Linked DNA regions of Homo sapiens: all the other regions are linked to region 2. The links are contacts of gene promoters, found by promoter capture Hi-C in blood cells and fetal thymus (Javierre and others, 2016). All regions are on one chromosome and are shown on one strand. The core of a region is centred on a gene start or on the middle of the fragment in contact, and the rest is flanking DNA. Distances in the headings are between cores, read along the strand shown. Region 1 overlaps XPNPEP1 (X-prolyl aminopeptidase 1). Region 2 holds the start of SMC3 (structural maintenance of chromosomes 3). Region 3 overlaps XPNPEP1 (X-prolyl aminopeptidase 1). Region 4 overlaps ADD3-AS1 (ADD3 antisense RNA 1). Region 5 overlaps ADD3 (adducin 3). Region 6 overlaps ADD3 (adducin 3).

Region 1 (3,177 bases), core at 42-2,541, 670 kb after region 2:
CTCGGTGCAGTTCATAGCAATAAGTGCTGCAGTTCATCAGATGTTCGGCATGCGCTAATTGCTTTATGTCACACCTCAACCCTTCAAGGTGGGCATTATGTTCATCCCCATTTTACAGATGAGGAAGTTGAGCCCCAGGTTCACCCAGCTAGTAAGTGGGGAACCAGGCTTGAACAGAGTTCTAACTGCTGGTTGTAGGAGATGTCTATTCTGTGGCTGATGAAAGTAGAGGTAAGTGCAGCATACACCTCGTATTCCTTGTTCCCTCAGAATTTATAATCCAATTGTGAGACTAGATGTGTACAACTTCTGTACAAAAGTAGAAGAGGTTGCTTGGCAGCTTGCAAGGGTATGGGCTTTCGAAAGTCAGACCTGAGGCTGGGTGCAGTGGCTCATGTCCATAATCCCAGCACTTTGGGAGGTCGAGGCAGGCGGATCACTTGAGGTCAGGAGTTCGAGACCAGCCTGACCAACATGGCAAAACCCTGTCTCTACTAAAAATACCAAAATTAGCTGGGTGTGGTGGTGGGCGCCTGTAATCCCAGCTACTTGGGAGACTGAGGCATGAGAATCGCGTGAACCTGGGAGGTGGAGGTTGTAGTGAGCCTAGATTGCGCCACTGCACTCCAGCCCAGGCGACAAAGCAAGACCCCATCTTAAAAAAAAAAAAAGTCAGACCTGAGTTCAGATCTTGGTTCTGCCATTTACTGTGGTGTTACCTTGGGGAAGTTAGTTATTTCTCTAAGCTTCATTTTTTTCATCTGTAGATTAGCGAGGGATGATACCTTCCAGGGCTGCTGTGAGGATTAGAATGAGAGGAAATGAATACAGTTATTGACTAGTAGGTGTTGAGACAATAATAAACAATACAGACTAAATAATCTTAGCTAACATTATTTGTCAGCATTATCCAAGGTAGGGTATGGATAAGTGCCAACATGGATGGTCCTGTAAAATTCAGAAATGTGGGAGCCTCTGAAAGCTGAAGTGGGTCAGGAAGCTTCATGGAAAAGGGAGCACTTGAACCAGATTTTTGAGAGATGACTAGCTTTTTTTTTTTTTGTAGTTTACAGATGCTTTATTTGGCTATGTATTGTTTATATTGTTGGAATTAGATGCCAACATTTAAAAATTGGGTAATTTCTCATGAACCCATATTTCTGGCTTCTTCTGAAATATTGAAGGTTAGCAACATGTGGCCTGCATTTCAGAAATCAGAGCTGAGTAGGAGCTGCTGTCTTTAGAAAAGATATCCTTTGTCCTGTACCCTGAGGTATTTGAATTTGAAACCCCATTTATAATCCCTTACGATCTTTTCCCCATTAGATAATGTATTAGTTTCCTATCACTGCTATAACAAATTACCACAGTGACTTAAAACAAATTTATTCTCTTATGGTTCTGGAAGTCTGAAGTCTAAAATGGGTCAGCAGGGCTATGTTACTTCTGCAGGCTCCAGGGAGAGTCCATTTCCTTGCCTTTTCCAGTTTCTGGAGGCCACCTGCATTCCTTGGCTCATGGTCCCTTCGTCCATCTTCGTAGATATGGTTGAGGTTTTAACTGGATGTAGGGAAAAGCTTCATGTCTCTTTCTGCTTGTTCATTTATAATACAAATGTGGGTTGAGGATCTAGTCACCTGTGCTGAGTGCAGGGACAGGACAGATACCCTGATCTCATGGAACTTATATGCTTGGGGTTAAGATGGGGGTTGAGGAACAAGACAATAAACATATAAAAAGTTCATTAAGAAGAGAAACATTGCCCAGCATGGTGGCTCTTGCCTGTAATCCTAGCACTTTGGGAGGCTGAGGCAGGCTGATCACTTGAGCCCAGAAGTTCAAGGCCAGCCTGGCAACGTGGTAAAACCCCGTTTCTACAAAAAAAAAAAAAAAAAAGGTGTGTGCCTGCTGTAGTCCCAGCTATTGAGAAGATTGAGGTGGGAGGATTGCTTGAACCTGACAGGTCAAGGATACAATGAGCCATAATTGTGTCACCACACTCTAGCTAGGGTAACAGAAGGCGATCCTGTCTCCAAAAGAAAAAAAAAAAAAAAAAGACAAATATCTAGAGTATGTGTGTGCTATACAGAGACTTAAAAGTGGCCAGGTGGCTATTATAGCTGGGTAGTACAGGTAGGCCTCTCTGTAGAGGTGATATTTGATCTCAAATGTAATGATGAGAAGGACCTAGCCATACCATGATCAGAAATACTTTTATAGGCACAAGGAAGCACATGTGCCAAGGCCTTGAGGCAGGAATGAGCTCAGGATATGCAAAGAGCAGAAAGGAGGTGGGTGTGTCTGGAGCATGGTGAATGGGAGCAGAGCTGCAAGAGGACTGGCAAAGTCAGATCAGCTGGTACCTTGACTGGGCCAGAGTTTGGATTTTATCTTAAATATAATAGGAAGCCATTGGAGGGTTTTAAGGAGGTTGCTAACATGATCTTAGATATTTGGAAAAGCTCACTCTGAGTGTATGTGCAGAGTGGATTGTAGGGGCGGTAGTCCAGGTAGAGATGATGGAGGCTTGGACTGAGTGCTGCTATTAGAAATGGAGAGAAGTGGGTGGTTTTGAGAAAAAGCCAGCAGCTGTGCTTCTTTGTGCCTTTTTCCTAGCATGCTACAGCTTTGGTTTATTTTAGGCCCTATGCTGTGTTCTAAGGAGACCGCCCCTGGGCGTTGCCAGCTTCATGCCTGGGAGAAGGAGAGTGACAGCCCTGGGCCCAGTGCTTGTCTGGCTTCTGCATAGCCTGTCAGTGTGGAGGTGAGGCTGTGGCCAGCCTTGCTTAGCAATGTCTTTCTGGAATGTTGACCACTTAGGTCATGTCTGGACATTCTTACCCCAGACCTTGTCTCCATCCCAAACTAAACATGTCCATTTGCTGTTAATTCCACCTCCCTTTGGAGGAACTCTTTCCTTGCCTTTGCTGATGGAGAAGTCTAGGTAAACCCTGCGGATCTTCCATCTCTCCCAAGCTTGCCCAGAAAGGGGTGGGGCATCCCTAGAGTACTATGTCCCTGAATGGAAGAGTCCAGCCGGGCTCAGACCTGCACTGCATTCTCTGCCAGTCTTTGCCAGTATCTTCACCCTGTGTCACGGGTGGAAGAGCCCCAAGCCTGTGGCGTCATGTTGGTGGAGAGTGCCCTCACTGTGTATTCCCCATTGTGCGCAGTGAT
Region 2 (3,307 bases), core at 80-2,579:
GAACACTTACCAATCACATTATGTTTTGAACTGAAGGGATCTACAATTGTTTGATCTCTGTAACTTCGAAAACCCTGGATAATCACCTAGTAAATAAAAAACATTTTTGAGAACCCACCCCACAAAAAAAATTAACATTTTTCTCTTGCATTTCTTTCTTGTTTTTCATTTAATGCAATATAGAAAACTCGAAATTTCATATAAGAAAAATTCATTTTGGAAAGTGGTGATTAAAAATCTGCTAAAAAAAAAAAAAGGTACTTTTATCGGTAATCTTTGCCAAGGCAATGCTGCTGGGTTTTATTTTTTTTTAGGAGTTATGCTGTCAACCTGTTAAGGACCTTTCAAAATCAAAAACACTGTGTGAGCTTAACTGAACCCTAAACGCTGCAGTACAATAGCAAGTCTATAAAAGCAGGCCGACGGGCCCCAGCTCTCCTGACTCCAAGACCACCGAGTGCTGCTTTCAGTCACTCACGCCGGCCAGCCTGAAAGAACCCACGTTCCAAAGAAGGAGTGCTCAGAGCCCGACAGACCCAACAGAAAACCGTCTCCAAGGCCGTGTGCCTGGGCTCATCTTTGTGGTGGAGTCCCGCGCGGGAAGACCATTTTGACAGAAGTAAACAACCGAGGGAGGCGGCGCTCCGTATCCTGCAAGCAGGAGGGTCCCGCTCACTTCGCGGGTTAACTGGGGAGAAGAACGGCTCCCCGCAGTGACAGGTGACGACACCCCAGCCAATGCCCCCAGGGCCGCCCCCGGGCCGGGGAAGCCACCTTTCCACACATCCCAGGCACATGGGCCGTGTGAGGCCACCCCTGCAGGACCACACAGCCCTTCCCGCCCGCGGCCGCCCCGGCGGGGTGCCCCCCGCCAGCTCTGGGGCCACCCAGGAAGGCCCAGTCCCTCCCAGCGGCCCGCCCGCCGGCCCTTCCACACCTCTCGGAGATCCTGCCTCTCCCAGACAAGCGCCAGCAGGGAGGCCGGGGCTGCAAAGGAGTGCCCCAATTCTCCGCGACCCCGCAGCCGGGGCACTAGCGGGACCCGGGTCTCCCTCCTCCCCCACAGTCCCCGCCCAGCCCTGGTCCAGCCTGTGGAGACAGGGGAGAGGCTGCGGGTGGCGCCGCAACACTCCCGCCTCAAGGAGCGGCCCTTACCGGCCCATGACGGGGTGGAGGGACGCGAAGGCCTTACCTGCTTTATGTACATGATTCCGGGCCCCTGGCCTGGAAGGAGACCTGCCCCGGAGCAGCAACCGCACGGCCGCAGGGTCAGGTGAGGCGCCTACGCGACCCCTCCCCCAAAGCGCCGCTCGCTCCCCTCAGCCAAACAAAATGGCGGCGCTCGTGGGGGCGGAGTCCGCGCCTCGGACGGAACCACCTTGCAGCCTTCACAGGGCGTAGGAGGAGTCAAGTTCAGGTCTGCTCTTTCTTTTAGGCAAAACCAGTCCTCCACAGCGTTTTTTGGTGGATTTCTTTTGAATCTAGAATTCTGTAGCTAACGCTTTCCTGAGACTTAGTCAAAAGCTTCACTCGGAAAATCTATGACCGTAGGGTTGGTCCGTACCACCTCCGAGCGCGGGGCCAATGGTCGCGTCCACAAAGGGGGAAAGGTTCCGCGCCAAAGCCAAGAGGGAGACTCCGAGGGCCAGTAGCGCCGCGGGCTGTCGGCCACGTGATTCCGCGCTGTTTAAAAAAGCGGACCTCGCGCGCACTGTGCTAGCCTTGGAACACATGGAATGCTGGTGATTCTTGGAATTCTGTGTGCGGAGTCACTGCTGCCCCTTTGTTATCGCTCTCCATAGGAACGTTTACAATCTTAGCACGCCCCAAGCTGGTTACGAATTGCCCACTCGGAGGACAACCCCGAAGGGATTTGTCAATGCTCGAAAATTTGTTTTAATAATGTGATGATTAATTCCGTCGGGAACTGTTTCTGTTCTACCATCTGCTATAAATCTAGGCAGATCTGTACAATTGCAACAAAGATTTAGGTAAGGCTGAAAGCTTTTAATCCACTTTAAAAACAAAAGAAAACAGCCTGAAAGATACTAGGTGCTAGTGGCAACCCTAGGTCTGTCTGATCCTTGTCAGTCTTGGGAGAAAAACATCATTTGTTTAGAAAATGAATCTCTGGGCTGCTCTGAAATTACTTGCTGGGAAGAGAACAAAATAACTACCCAAATCATCCCCAGCCCCACCCCCGCCCGCTGCTGGAGACAATTCTGGCCCTAATTATTTCTAGATTGAACTATTTTTAGTAGCCTCCTAACTGCCTCTGCTAACCAGGGTATCTCCCTAGGAGTCCTTTATCTGGAGCCCGGATCAAATCCTATCCAGCCCTTGGTTTAAAAAAATAAATAGGCCTGGTCGAGTGGCTCAAGCGTGTAATCCCAGCACTTTGGGAGGCTGAGGGGGGAGGATCACCTGAGGTCACGAGTTCAAGACCAGCCTGGCCAGCATGGCGAAACCCCCGTCTCTACTCGAAATACAAAAATTAGCTGGGCGTCGTGGCGGGTGCCTGTAATCCCAGTTAGTCGGGAGGCTGGGGCAGGAGAATTGCTTGAATCCAGGAGGCAGAGGTTGCAGTGAGCCAAGATCGCGCCACTGCACTCCAGCCTGGGCAACAGAGCGAGACTGTCTCAAAATAAATTAAATAAATATGTAAGCATTTTCTTTTCTTTATTTCTAACTTTTTTTTTTTTTTTTGACAGGATCTTGCTCTGTCACCCAGGGTGGAGCTGGAGCATAGTGGCTCGGTCATGGTTCACTGCAGCCTCAAACTCCTGGGTTCAAGCCATCCTCCCACCTCAGCCTACAGGCTGTGGCCACCAAGCCCAGCTTTTTTTTGTTTTTGTAGAGACCAGGTCTCCTTATGTTGCCCAGGCTGGTCTCTAACTTCTGGCCTCAAGCGATCCTCCCACCTCTGCCTCCCTAAATGCTGGGATTACAGGAATGAGCCACTGCACTCAATCTAAACATTTTACTTCTAGATTTTAGTTGTATTATTTAAAGCTTAGGACAGGTATGGTGGTTCACGCCTGTAATCCCAGCACTTTGGGAGGCCCAGGTGGGTGGATCACTTGAGGTCAGGAGTTTCAGAACAGTCTGGCCAACGTGGCAGATAGGATTATCTTATACATCCTGTTTGTAATTCTAAATATGATGGAGTTTTATCATCTTCATTTTATAGACTAGGAAGTGGAGGCTCAGCATGGCAAAACTCCGTCTCTACTAAAAATACAAAAATTAGCTGGGCGTGGTGCAGACGCCTGTAATCTCAGCTACTCAGGAAGCTGAGGCAGGAGAA
Region 3 (3,328 bases), core at 654-3,153, 690 kb after region 2:
ATGTGGATATACATTATTCAGACCTACCTATATGTGATTCTAACTCTAGCATCTCCCATGCTCTGCTGACCATGAGATCTGAGATCTTCATCAAATTTTTGGGCTCTATTTTAATAATTCTCTCTGGAAATTTGGTGTGTGTAGATTTCAAAATTCCTTAATTATGAAAATAGTAACAAGAATGAAGAAAAGTTCCATAATAGAGTGGATGCTTTTTGGGTTAGGGAATCATAACTAAGTGGAATTTCATTATAAGGAAAAATGAGTCTTATAATATTATTATAGGCAAGCTGATTGTATTAGGAGAAAAAGATCTTTGTGTACATTTTGAACTTCAGTTTAAGCCTTGAGCCTTTTTATATTAAATTGACTCTTGGCCATTAATTTCTTGCTCTAGTTGACAAGAGGGTGGTTTCTCTGTGGTGTTATTAAACAATATCATGTTCCCTTTAAGTATTGTATAAACAACTCTTTAATTGGGAAAAGAAAATATTGTCTTTATTCCCACTAGTGTAACTTTTTCCCTCATGTTTCCTTCTGGTGATTGTTCATCTATGTAAATTATTATTATTATTTTATTTTATTTTATTTTTTGAGACGGAGTCTCACTCTGTCACCCAGGCTGGAGTGCAGTGGTGTGATCTCGGCTCACTGCAACCTCTGCTGCCCAGGTTCAAGAGATTCTCCTGCCTTAGCCTCCCAAGTAGCTGGGATTATAGGCGCCTGCCACTGCGCCTGGCTAATTTTCGTAGTTGTAGTAGAGATGGGGTTTCACCATCTTGGCCAGGCTGGTCTTGAACTCCTGACCTTGTGATCCACCCACCTCGGCCTCCCAAAGTGCTGGGATTACAGGCATGAGCCACCATGCCTGGACTTTATGTAAATTATTATTATTACATTTTTATTATTTTTTTTTATTTTTGAGACAGAGCCTTGCTCCATCGCCCAGGCTGGAGTGCAGTGGAGCGATCTCGGCTCACTGCAAGCTCCGTCTCCTGGGTTCACGCCATTCTCCTGCCTCAGCCTCCCGACTAGCTGGGACTACAGGCGCCCGCCACCATGCTTGGCTAATTTTTTGTATTTTTAGTAGAGACGGGGTTTCACTGTGTTAGCCAGGATGGTCTCGATCTCCTGACCTTGTGATCCGCCCGCCTCGGCCTCCCAAAGTGCTGGGATTACAGGCGTGAGCCACCGTGCCTGGCCGTAAATTATTTTTAAAAATATAAATTATTTTTACATGTCTCTTAGTGTGCAGATAAATTTTTTTTCTTTTTTTTTTTCTTATTTTGAGATGGGGTCTCATCTGTTGCACAGGCTGGAGAGTAGTGGTGTGATCACAGCTCACTGCAGCCTCAGCCTCCCCAAGCTCAGGTGATCCTCCCACCTCAGCCTCCCGATTAGTTGGGACTACAGCCCACCTGATTTTTTCTGATTTTTTTGTAGAGATAAGGTTTTGCCATGTTGCCCAGGCTGATCTGAAACTCCTGGGCTCAAGCGATCCACCTATCTTGGCCTCCCAAAGTGCTAGGATTATAGGTGTGAGCCATCACACCTGGCTTAGATATGATTTTGTGTTTTATTTTATTCTCTTAGAATCATAGTGTGAACATTTTCCATGTACATTGAGGCCTTAAAAAAGGATCCAAATGAAAACTGCATCTAGTGGCTCTTCTGATTTACTAACCCAGTCCTCCTATTTTTAAATGTTTGGGTTGTTTTTAATTTTTTGCTGTTATCAGTAATCCTGCAATAATCTCTCCGCATTTATCTTTTTTATTTCTCTAGAATGATTTTCTTACGATGATTTCTTAGGAGGGGATGCTTTTGAATTTTTAAACTTAGATATGTTGTTTTGGGAGGTTTTAGGATAAAATACTGAAGCACAATAGTTGAGTGAAAAATTAAATGAATAGAAACTATTGGATTTTAGATAGCTTTGGTGAGAGCCTTTGGGAGTTCTCCCTTGCTAAAGATGTGTCCTGTAGATTGGTCAGTTGGGATGAAGCAATTGAGGAAAAAGTGAGCTTTTAATGTACCTCCTCTAATTTGTAAGAGGCACACATGAATTTATCTCACCAGATGATTTATAAGCAATTTTCTCATAGGTTCCCAAAGGTGGTGTGACAGAGATCTCAGCTGCTGACAAAGCTGAGGAGTTTCGCAGGTAAGGATCCATTTGGGGGGACCCAGGAGCCTCGTGCTGATTTTCTTGCTAGTTGAATGAGGCTGGAAGGGCCCTGAATCTTAGCACAGTAAAAACCTTTAAGCCACTCTGCTTTCTGTCTTTCTGTTACAGGCAACAGGCAGACTTTGTGGACCTGAGCTTCCCAACAATTTCCAGTACGGGACCCAACGGCGCCATCATTCACTACGCGTAAGGCATGCGGAGGAGCATGCTGCCTGGCCTTGCTGCTTCTGCACAGGAGCCTGAGCAGGGGAGAGACATTATTTTACCAGAGGCCTCTGTGCCCACCTTCATCTGTCTGTTGAGACTGTAAAATGAAGGGAAATAAGACTTCTAAGATTTTATTTTCTCCCAATCCCCAAGCCTCTGCCTTTTGGGAGCCTCTTCTTAGGCTCAGTATGGCACTGGCATTCTCTGCAGGGTAGTCAGATGGGTGTCCCTCTTTCCTTTTTGAAGCTGCAGGAACTGTATGCATAGCCCTTGCATCTTGATGACTAAGTTTTTTTTTTTTTGGAGACAAGGTCTTGCTCTGCTGCCCAGGCTGGAGCGCAGTGGTGCCATCACAACTCACTGCAACTTTGAACTCCTAGACTCAAGCAATCCTCCTGCCTCAGCCTCCTGAGTAGCTGGGACTATAGGCATGTGCTACCACTCCTGGCTAATTTTTAGATTTTTTTGTAGAGATGAGGATCTTGATGTGTTGCCCAGGCTTGTCTCGAATTTCTGGACTCAAGCAATCCTCCTGCCTCAGCCTCCTAAAGTGCTGGAATTACAGGTGTGAGCCACTGTGCTTGGCCCATGACTGGAATTTTTGAGTAGTTTTCTTTCTTGGTAACAGCAGCTGTTTTGTACTAGTCCATACATCTTGTGAGCTCCATCAGTTCCATACCAAAAAAAAACTTAGTAGTAGGTTGTGAGGCAACCTGTTTTGGGTGGAGAGATAATCAGTACCCTCTCTTCCTGTCCCCCTGAGCCTGAAGCCTGGCATCCCAGTATGTGGTTTTTTTACCACGTGGTCTACAAGAACCCATGGACCCACAGGGCCGAGCCTCCCTTCCTTGTGAGACAGAGGGGCACTGATATGTCTAGGACTGACAGATCTTCCTGTGGAGATGGGGGGAAATGTCATTAGGTGTGGCCATT
Region 4 (3,225 bases), core at 325-2,824, 570 kb after region 2:
AATAGGCCATTGACAATGACTAGGGTGGGGGAGGGGTACTGCTTTAGTTAGGATGGATGAAGAAGGTGTCTTTGAGGAGGTGACATTTGAGCTGAGACCTGAATGATCTGTAGTCGGCAGCTGGAGAGACAAGTAAGTTCAAAGGTCATGAGGCAGGAACAAGTTTGGTATGATTGAGAGATTGAGGGAAAGGCATGGTGGTCAAACACTGTGACTGAAGGAGAGAGGCCCAAGACAGGAGAGCTAGGTGGGGGCTGGATCATGTGGGTCTGGCAGATCATGGTGAGGAGTTTGACTTTCAGAAGGTTTTAAGCAAAGGAAGGCTACAGTCTCATTTGCATTTTTGGAATTTCCTGGCTGCTATGTGCAGAATGAACACTAGAGAGATGTGACTAGAGACTGGGAAGCTAGTTAGGAAGCCATTAAAGTCATCCTGACAAGAGGAAATGGGGTCTTGTTGTAGGGGTAGCTGTGGAGAAGAGAAGTGAAAGATCTTGGGTATATTTTGGAGACTTGCTGATGGAGTACATGAGTTGAGTGCAGAAAAGGAGAGAAAGAGAGGACTCAATCCAGAGTGATCTCCAAAGCCTTTGACCTTAGTGTCTTGATGGATGGTAGTACCATTACCTGAGACAGAGAAGACTTGAGAAGAAGTAGTATAACAGATAAAAGCGAGCCCTTCTGCTAAGTTTGAGATTACCCTCTTTCTTCTCTTCAGAGTACAAACTCCACTTTATAATTATTTTGTTAATTAATTTTGTTGTACTTATTTATCATTAATTTCCTCCCCATAGGAATCTTCAAAAGAGCAAGAACTTTATCGTGTTCATTGTTGTATCCCTAGTACAGTCTAGAGTCTAGAACATTGATGGTCACAGAGTATATACCCAATAAATATTAGGATTTGTTGAGACTGGTTCAGTAGTTCTCAAATTTAAGTGTACATGAAAACCGCCCGGATTTAGATCGTTATTAAAAGTTAGCATCAGCCCCCATCTTAACCCTTCCCCATCAAAACTCTTCTGTAGTAGGTCTGATGTTGCACTCTGGAAGCTGCACATTTAGCCAGCACTGTAGGTGTGCAGTGGACTACAAGTTTAGATGTATCAGTGTTCTTTCAAATATTTGCCTTAGAAACTACATTTCAGTGGCATCTGTGTAAAAGACCACAAAGCATGGCTTTAAGAATTCAATGGCATTCCCAAATATAGTCAAATCATACGGTGTGATTTAAAAGCTTTTGAGAGAAAAGCAGCGAAAGAATCCTAGAGTCCCTTCTGTCTCGTTTGACTTATAGACTGTCATTGTGAAGGGGTCCTTCAGAAGGATTCATCATGTGAAGAAAAATGGCTACCTAAGTGCAGGGATTTCAAGGGCAGCAACAGCCTTCTCTGACTATATCTCCAAAGTATCCCTATTTACAGGTCTGTGAAATTCCTTTACTTGTTGATTATAGTAAATGTTTGTTTTTGTTTGCACAGCATTCCTTGCCTTTTCCAGTAAGGGTGCCCCAATATTCCTTTGGAGCCTTTTTTTACCTCATTGCTGCAGCTTGGCACCCCACCCTCTTCTGAGATAGGGGCTGACCCCATGCTGAATCAAACAGATAATCTCTTCCTAGCATTTGAATCTTGAGTAATAACACAAAGACTTAAGATTAGAATTCCACCTAAAGGAGGTCCTAGAAGAAAATGAGATTAGATACTGCTACGAAGACCTCATAAAACCCACTTAGCTCCTGTCTTTACAAGACCCTATTCTTCAGCTTTCTCTTCAATTCTGTGAGCTCTGTGCCTTATTCTTCCAATAAATTCCTGCTTTGCTTAAGTTAGAGTGACCTCAGTTGCTTGAAATATAATCTATGGCATAGCAATAAAAACCTTGTGATCTATAGTTAGAGGTAAAGCTTTCAAAACAAATCCTTCCTGGGAGTAGTAACACATTAACCTAAATTCTCACTAAAGTGTAAATGTATGATAGCAGAACCTGAACAGCACAATTCATTGAGGCCGAAGAGAGTGAAGAGCTCCATGGCTTGACATCAGTCACACCACTGAGGTAGGAAGGAAAGTTTAACGCATGATTTAAATACCTTGCTGCAAACTGTCTACACTTTTATTTCATAGTTTCTACTAAGCCCTCCCAGATACTGAGTTTCTACCTTCAGACTAAACTTTCAGAGCAAGGCTTTCCAAAGCAGGGCATAATTACTAGGACACATAAACCTAAGACATTAATTTATGAACATGAGAATTCATAACATTAAATTTAGTTCTCATTTCCTTCTCTGGCCCCAGGGGAAAAAGAGGAACATCCTGTCCTTTTAATCATTTGAGTTAAATCCTAGTCATTTGTTGACCTTCCTCCTTCCCCCATTTTTGAAAAGACTTATGACTCTTTAAAACGCTAAGAAATTAATGACTTACCTCATGTCTTATGCACAGTATCTTCTGAACAAGCCAAGTTTCTCACAGTCTCATTCACAATGATTACTGAAACTAAAGTAACAACAGAAAGCATACTGAACAAAGCCAGCAGGAGTTCTGGGTGTAAGCCACACCCAGGGAGAGATAACGAAGCATGTTGTAGTTTAACAAGAGTAATAAAAATGAAATCTAATCACTTGCAGATTATATACAGTATAAATAGAGATCAAGTTGTAAAAACCAGTCTAGTTAATATTTTTTATTTTTAATAGCGGTTGGTATTTGTGAAAATTAAACATAACAAAATCTGGATATAAAACAATATTGATTCTGCATGGCCAATCATTTTCATTTCAAATGGGGGTGGAGAAAAATCACCATTCTTATTAAAACATAATAGTATTACTAACATTTGCTGAGCACTCACTATGTGCCAGGTACTGTGTTAAGTGCTTTTTAATGTAGGTTGTTTCATTTAATACACCTCCATGAGGTATTGCCCTAATATACCTGTTTAGAAACAGTGGAACTAAGGCACTGAGAGGTTAAGTAATTTGCCCAAGATCAAAGAGCAGGTAAATAGCAGTGGTTGGGTTTTGAATCCAGGTAATGTTAGACACACCTGACAGTGATAACTTGACATGTGCATATCCTGAGAATGATCCTACATGGCAGATGCACCTGAATGTGTGTTCAGAATTCTGAGCTAAGAAATCCAAGAGTGGCCAAATCAGGGATCTGTTCCTTATCTTAGAAGGACCATCTGAGCGCCTATCCTGTCCAGTGGAGTGAGGGCTGT
Region 5 (3,396 bases), core at 408-2,907, 540 kb after region 2:
TTAGAACTAATGATCTACATTAGTGGGAAATGCAGATGAGTTAATCCTAATAAACACTGCAGGCAACTAGCAAATTACGGTCCCAGAGATTCAAAATAGAAATTAAAGGCAGCTGAGTATAGCACAATGACTTTATTGTCCCTATTTATTATTTACAAGAATGCACAAAGTATTTGCACTATATACATAATACTTGCACTATATACATTTTAATATAGCACTTATGAGAATTTTTAAATTAAAAATTAACTGGTTTTTAAGTAACTATACTTCAAGAACACTGCTCCCTCTATGAAATCCCATTCCCCAGAAACGGGCCCATCTGATTAGCACAGCTGATCTGCCAGCTGGATGGATCCCAAGTAAATTTCAAACCAGCACTTGGCAAAATATCCCTGTACCCTGCATTTTACATGGAACACAAACTAAAGATGCATTCTGGGACTGCCCTGAGAACCAAACAATTGTATGGCGACATGAACATATTCTCTTTATCCTCTTTATATTAAATTTGCTAGATGACCAATTTAAACAATACTTCAAATGCTGTGCTTGAATTCTGCTTACATCTATTCTGCTATTAGTCTGTTGGCATCTAACACTGGATCAGAAAAGACTGCCATCTGGTAGTTATAGCAGCCCTTCACTAACTTGGTCAGAAGTTGAAGACCATAAGCCTCAGAGAAATGCAAACCAAGTTTATTACTATGAATATATCAAAATCTTCTTTTTGTAAAGCCATTCAACAGGGTTTTTCATTCAAAGAGAAACACTGTGCTCACACACATTATATAATCGACCTATAAAAGTCAGGTTTTAAAGGAGTTAAAGGGATGAATGATTAAATTAAATGAGTAATTAGGTCCACATTCCCCTCACCCACAAGGCTGCCACTGTCTCTTTTATAAAGCCTAGGGATGAGAGCCAAATTGGCTCTATTTAAATTGGCTATTTAATTTAACTCTAACTTCTCTTAATCATAATGTGTGTGTTCTTGGGTACAAATTTTTTCCTCTCGATAAAGTTTCTGGTAGGCAATACTTTAGATGAAGAGAAATAATTAACAGTATAAAAACAATAACAACATGTATACAGCATATGAGCACGCACAAAGTGTTTTCAAACTTAGCATGATCTTAATCAGGAAGGAAAGCCAGAGAAGTATTAATAGAATAGCGATTATTTCAGATTCTAACACTTTCATAAGGTTACACACTTAGGGTAATGGTAGAGCTGAGAAAGCTGAATCCACACCACCTAGTCAGAAATTCTCTTTCTAGCATACTATACTCTTTCCTGAAATAGTATTTTACAGTTTACATAGCTCTTAGTATTATAAATACAATATGCATGTACATGTACAAATACTATGCACTCTGAATTTGCCCAAGTATCCCTGCTGCCCACTTCCCCAGTCTGGTTTTACTCCCTTTTTCCTTTTTTGTCCTTCCTTTTCTCTCCTTATCTTTCCAAAGTCACCACCACTTGCTTGAGCCTGAATGAAGGCAGAAGTGGATGAGTGAATGCAGGATCCACCCTTTAAGAGCACTCATGATTTGTGATCACATCTATTCTAACTTAGAGACTAGCATGCCAACACATGGACTATTTCTCCGAGCTCTCATTCTTAATGCAACAATGTCAAGGACATGGCCATTAAGAGATGACCTAGGATTACATAACACTTATCCAGCTTAATATGCTTATTCTATCCCATTATTTTACTTCAACCCTCTTTGTCTATAAAAATCTCTTTCCTTATATGGCCAGTCTCTGAAGTCCAAGATTTGATATTCCTGGCATTTAGCAAAGGAGACTCTTCTTGTATCTCTTCCTGAAGGCATCTGAAACATTTTTTGTGACTGATTTTCCAGGTGAGAAAGTCATAGGCTTGATCTATACCGTTCAACTGGCTGCCAATAAGATTAAATCTCTTTGAAGTTGCTAAGAGGGGAAACTTTAAATGTTATCACAAAAAAAAAAAAGTATTGAGGTAATACATATGTCAATTAGACTGATTTATGCATTCTCATAAATCATATTCTAAAACCTTATGTTCTAAATGTATACGTATTCCAAATCATGTTTTAGATAATACATACATGTAACTTTTGTCAATTTTTAAAAGTTACTTAAAAAAAAAAAATAGCTCATGTCTCTTCATTAACATCTAGGCCACTCACTAGGTACCAGATAGGGTAGGAGGGTGGCGCATTAAAGTCATCCACCAAGACAAAGGAAAACAACTTAAGGATCCTAAGTACTGATCAGTCAACACCATTTGCCAAGAAACTCCTTTATAAACAGTACTCCGCTTCATGTTAAAGGACACACATGGAAATGAAAACATAGGGGAGTATAATACAGCTGAAAGAACACTGGTTCTAGAACCAGGCTGGCTTAGGTTGGAATTCCATTCTGCCACCTACTAGTTGCCACTTACCCAGAGCAAAGTCACAATGTATCTGAATCTGTTTCTTCGTAATTTAGAATATAAATCCGGTGGAACTGATGTGAGGATTCATGATTTTACCTAAAGTACCTAGCACTGTACCTTGCACATGGCAGGTGCCCAATGGATAGTAGCCATAAATTTATTTTTTATTTTGATTTTTTGAGGGACAGAGTTTTGCTCTTGTTGCCCAGGCTGGAGTGCAATGGCACAATCTCAGCTCACTGCAACCTCCCCCTCCGGGTTCAAGGGATTCTCCTGCCTCAGTCTCCCGAGTAGCTAGGACTACAGGCATGCGCCACAACGCCCAGCTAATTTTGTAGTTTTAGTAGAGACAGTGTTTCCTCATGTTAGTCAGCTGGTCTCGAACTCCCGACCTCAGGTGATCCACCTGCCTCGGTCTCCCAAAGTGCTGGGATTACAGGCGTGAGCCACCGTGCCTGGACTTACAAATTTATTTTTATCACCTGTTTTCAAGAAGCTGGTCAGGAGTCACCAACCATTAAAGATAGTGGGTGGAGCAAGTGGTTTGGTTTCGTTTTTTAAACTTCATCAATGGGAGAGTTAGAGAAGGAGTAGAGGTTGCTTGTAGGCAATAGCTCTCAAAACAGCACTGTAATACAAATTGGACGAGCCAAGTCAGCTGGAATAGCTGTAGCCAATGTAATCAATATATTAAAAAAAGTTATTTTATGTTCTTTTTCTTGTACTAGGTCTTTGAAATCTGTATATTTTTATAATTGCAGCACATCTCAATTAGGACTAGCCACATTTCAAGCGATAAACAGCCACACACAGCTAGTGGTTACCATAATGTCAGTGGAACTCTATAATTCTGGCACCAAGCCTGGGCCCATTCCAAAGAATCTACCCTAATACCCATTTCACAGGTTAGCCTAGATCCATGCCACCTAAAATCATCTCACAAATCTCTAGGTTACCAA
Region 6 (3,009 bases), core at 185-2,684, 550 kb after region 2:
CAACAACAAAATCTACTTTGAAACAGTGAATTCACTCAAGTAGGAATCATTGCCTTACAAAATGAGACAAAAAGGGCAGGAGAAAAAAACAATCGAAGTATTCAAGTATTCTTAAAACCCTTACCTCCAGTTAGGCAAATGATTTGTTTGCTGATTCTAAGCCCAAGCAGATTTTAACATCATTATTGTCTGCAGGAGCCATCAATAACCAACCAGACCTGCTATTGAAAGACTGCTCTCATTAAAATAATTTTCTTTACCACTTAATTTAATTTCACCACTACTCGGCTGTTTTTAACATAAGGCTCAACAACTTCTTCAGGTTTCTCTTTTCCCATGCATTCCAACAAGTACTGAATTAGTTCTTCATCATGTGTTTAGGCCTCCTGCTGGGAAGCATAATTAAAATTAAGCAGGCAACAATTCCACTTGGTACTAAGATCCTGTCAAATCCTCCAAATGAAGCTGGGCCTGGTTTCTCCAGGAACTGGCTGAGTTCTGTAAGGAAAACAGGAGCTGCTCAACTTGATGCTGGCCATTCAGTAGATGGCACTCTTCCCTTTGAGCCCAAATTAAACAGCCCCAAGAAGTATGTCCTGTTACATTCAGGTGTGACACAAAGCAGGGGTTCTCTCTTCAAAGCACTTAACTGACAGTCACAATCCCTCCTGAAATGCTGACTGGTCAAGGCAGACACTCTAAAAGAGCACAGGGACGTTTAGATTATAAGACATCAAACAATATAAAATCATCTAACTTAAGTGATTACCAATTAATCAGCTTCTCAGAGGTTATTACTATCTCAAGCAAATACACTGTTCTTATTGAGGCATAAAATGTTCCTTCCCTATTACATTCTGCTATAACAGTGACAGCCTTTCTGTGGCTAGTGACCGGACCCTTGTCTATCGCATGTTTTACTAAGGTATTTAGCTATGGCAAAGTGCTTAGAGAAATAAGATTTTATCATTATCAACATTCACTATGACAGATGAAGTAAAAATGTATTACTTTCAGCATTTTTAACTGAAAATAAATTTGATGTCCACTTAAAAAAAAAATCAAACATTCTGCCAGGCGCAGTGGCTCACACCTGTAATCCCAGAACTTTGGGAGGCCGAGGCGGACGGATCACGAGGTCAGGAGATCGAGACCATCCGGGCTAACATGGTAAAACCCTGTCTCCACTAAAATATAAAAAATTAGCCGAGCATGGTGGTGGGTGCTTGTAGTTCCAGCTGCTTGGGAGGCTGAGGCAGGAGAATGGCATGAACCCAGGAGGCGGAGCTTGCAGTGAGCCGAGATCAGGCCACTGCACTCCAGCCTGGGCGACAGAGCGAGACTCCATCTCAAAAAAAAAAAAAAAATCAAACATTCTAATATGAAAATTAGTGCAGCTCTAGTTTTTCAAAAAACAAGTATTTTTAAAGCAATGAATTTCTAATTCATTGATAATGTGTACTTTAATAAATAATAGCTCCCAATTATTAAATGTTGAGTAAGGTTTGTCACACTTCTATTTTGAAAATCTTTATTCGAAATTTAACAAGCAGACAGTTGTGGAGAAAGAAAAAAATTCCTTTTAGTGCAATCTCCAATTTAAAGCTAAAATGTTAAGCAATCAGATAGAATTCACCTTAAAAATTCTACCTTCCCATCCTGGCCAACATGGTGAAACCCCATCTCTACTAAAAATACAAAAAATTAGCCAGGCGTGGTGGCCCATGCCTGTAAACCCAGCTACTCGGGAAGCTGAGGCAGCAGAATCACTTGAACCAGGGAGTCGGAGGTTGCATTGAGCCGAGATCACGCCACTGCACTCCAGCCTGGCAACAGTGCGAGACTCCGTCTCAAAAAAAAAATTCTACCTTCCCTTAGGAAAGTGAACTCAACTCTGACAATAAAAACTGTAAAAGAAGGCTGGACGCGGTGGCTCACACCTGTAATCCCAGCACTTTGGGAGGCCGAGGCGGGTGGATCACCTGAGGTTGGGAGTTCGAGACCAGCCTGACCAACATGGAGAAACCCCATCTCTACTAAAAATACAAAATTAGCCGGGCGTGGTGGCGTATGCCTGTAATCCCAGATACTCAGGAAGGCTGAGGCAGGAGAATCCCTTGAGCCCAGGAGGTAGATGTTGCGGTGAGCTGAGAATTGCGCCATTGCACTCCAGCCTGGGCAACAAGAGTAAAAAACTCTGTCTCAAAAAAAATAAAAATAAAAAAACTGTAAAAGAAAGGCAAGGTAAGAGGTACACTGTTTTCACCTTTAAAAAGTTGGCTGTGGAAATAAGGAATACGAACAATGCATCAACTTCATTGCAAATCCCTTTCTACCTCCCATTTGTGCAGCTCAGGCAATGAAGCATTCCACTCATCCAAGGCACTTATGCCCAATCACAACTCCATTTGAGCTCTGACCATTGCCATTTTCCAACCACCTCCTTAGATATTAAAAGGCTGACCTTCTAGAATTTTTTTGTCATGTATTAAGACAAATGAGAACAGAAGTCACGATGCAGCTAACAGTTGCTCACTCTAACTTCCTAGGGCGTAAAAGTGGAGTGTTCTTAGAAGTCCCTGGGGAGGCCTTGACTTCCAAATTTACTTCCTTAGATATACCAAGTAAGCCTAACTATCTTCTTCAGGAGGATGAGTAAACCCAACTTTCTGCTCTAGCATTTAGTCATTCTAGCAAATCAAAAGATGATAGGATGAGAATATTGAATGGAAAAGGAAAACAGAAATGCTGTCCTTGCTCAGGATGAGCTGAGCCATTGTGGAAGAACTGCACAGAAACACTGCTAATGGTGACAAAGACATACACCGAGTTCCCATGACACTAAAAACTCAGCACTTCTCCAACCTGATTGCTTTTACATTGTTTGAGTTCCACCTCCTCTAGTAGGTAACCAACAAACCACCACAGAGGCAGAGTTAAACAGGCTGAGTCACTCACATCAGCACTCTCCTCTTTCATTCCATCTGAAAAGGTGAGCACTTCCTTTGG

The links. Contacts are between HindIII fragments. The CHiCAGO score rates a contact against its expected background, and 5 or more counts as called.
Region 1: a contact is called between a fragment that was not itself captured here and the fragment with the promoter of SMC3 in region 2, in 2 of 17 cell types (naive CD8 T cells and total CD8 T cells). The highest score is 5.3, in naive CD8 T cells.
Region 3: a fragment that was not itself captured here is called in contact with the fragment with the promoter of SMC3 in region 2 in 1 of 17 cell types (fetal thymus); the score reaches 6.7 in fetal thymus.
Region 4: a fragment that was not itself captured here is called in contact with the fragment with the promoter of SMC3 in region 2 in 1 of 17 cell types (total B cells); the score reaches 5.1 in total B cells.
Region 5: a contact is called between a fragment that was not itself captured here and the fragment with the promoter of SMC3 in region 2, in 2 of 17 cell types (total CD4 T cells and total CD8 T cells). The highest score is 5.9, in total CD4 T cells.
Region 6: a contact is called between a fragment that was not itself captured here and the fragment with the promoter of SMC3 in region 2, in 7 of 17 cell types (total CD8 T cells, fetal thymus, non-activated CD4 T cells and 4 more). The highest score is 9.4, in total CD8 T cells.

What each region holds. Positions count from the first base shown.
Region 1 is chr10:109,895,153-109,898,329 of GRCh38, reverse strand. All of the region lies in intron 3 of XPNPEP1 (X-prolyl aminopeptidase 1), which reads left to right. Among named protein-coding and RNA genes, the nearest start is that of XPNPEP1, 27 kb to the left of the region's middle. The HindIII fragment of the contact is 577 bases long and covers 1,003-1,579 here.
Region 2 is chr10:110,565,717-110,569,023 of GRCh38, reverse strand. SMC3 (structural maintenance of chromosomes 3) reads right to left here and starts at 1,329. Exons shown (of 29, transcript NM_005445.4): 1 at 1,193-1,329; 2 at 11-86. The coding sequence starts at 1,207. LOC105378483 (a long non-coding RNA gene) reads left to right here and starts at 1,716. Exons shown (of 2, transcript XR_946318.2): 1 at 1,716-1,991. RefSeq lists a silencer at 720-1,009 and enhancers at 1,350-1,449, 1,460-1,509, 2,324-3,026. The HindIII fragment of the contact is 2,181 bases long and covers 1-1,526 here.
Region 3 is chr10:109,876,836-109,880,163 of GRCh38, reverse strand. It overlaps XPNPEP1 (X-prolyl aminopeptidase 1), which reads left to right. Exons shown (of 21, transcript NM_020383.4): 13 at 2,106-2,164; 14 at 2,297-2,374. Among named protein-coding and RNA genes, the nearest start is that of XPNPEP1, 45 kb to the left of the region's middle. The HindIII fragment of the contact is 6,015 bases long and covers 1-3,328 here.
Region 4 is chr10:109,995,648-109,998,872 of GRCh38, reverse strand. The region is part of intron 2 of ADD3-AS1 (ADD3 antisense RNA 1); the gene reads left to right. It also overlaps a transcript of ADD3 not described here. Among named protein-coding and RNA genes, the nearest start is that of ADD3, 11 kb to the left of the region's middle. The HindIII fragment of the contact is 669 bases long and covers 1,240-1,908 here.
Region 5 is chr10:110,030,496-110,033,891 of GRCh38, reverse strand. The region is part of intron 1 of ADD3 (adducin 3); the gene reads right to left. Among named protein-coding and RNA genes, the nearest start is that of ADD3-AS1, 24 kb to the right of the region's middle. RefSeq lists a silencer at 1,447-1,741. The HindIII fragment of the contact is 5,269 bases long and covers 1-3,396 here.
Region 6 is chr10:110,013,736-110,016,744 of GRCh38, reverse strand. The region is part of intron 1 of ADD3 (adducin 3); the gene reads right to left. Among named protein-coding and RNA genes, the nearest start is that of ADD3-AS1, 6.9 kb to the right of the region's middle. RefSeq lists enhancers at 1,561-2,366, 2,787-2,846. The HindIII fragment of the contact is 3,260 bases long and covers 1-3,009 here.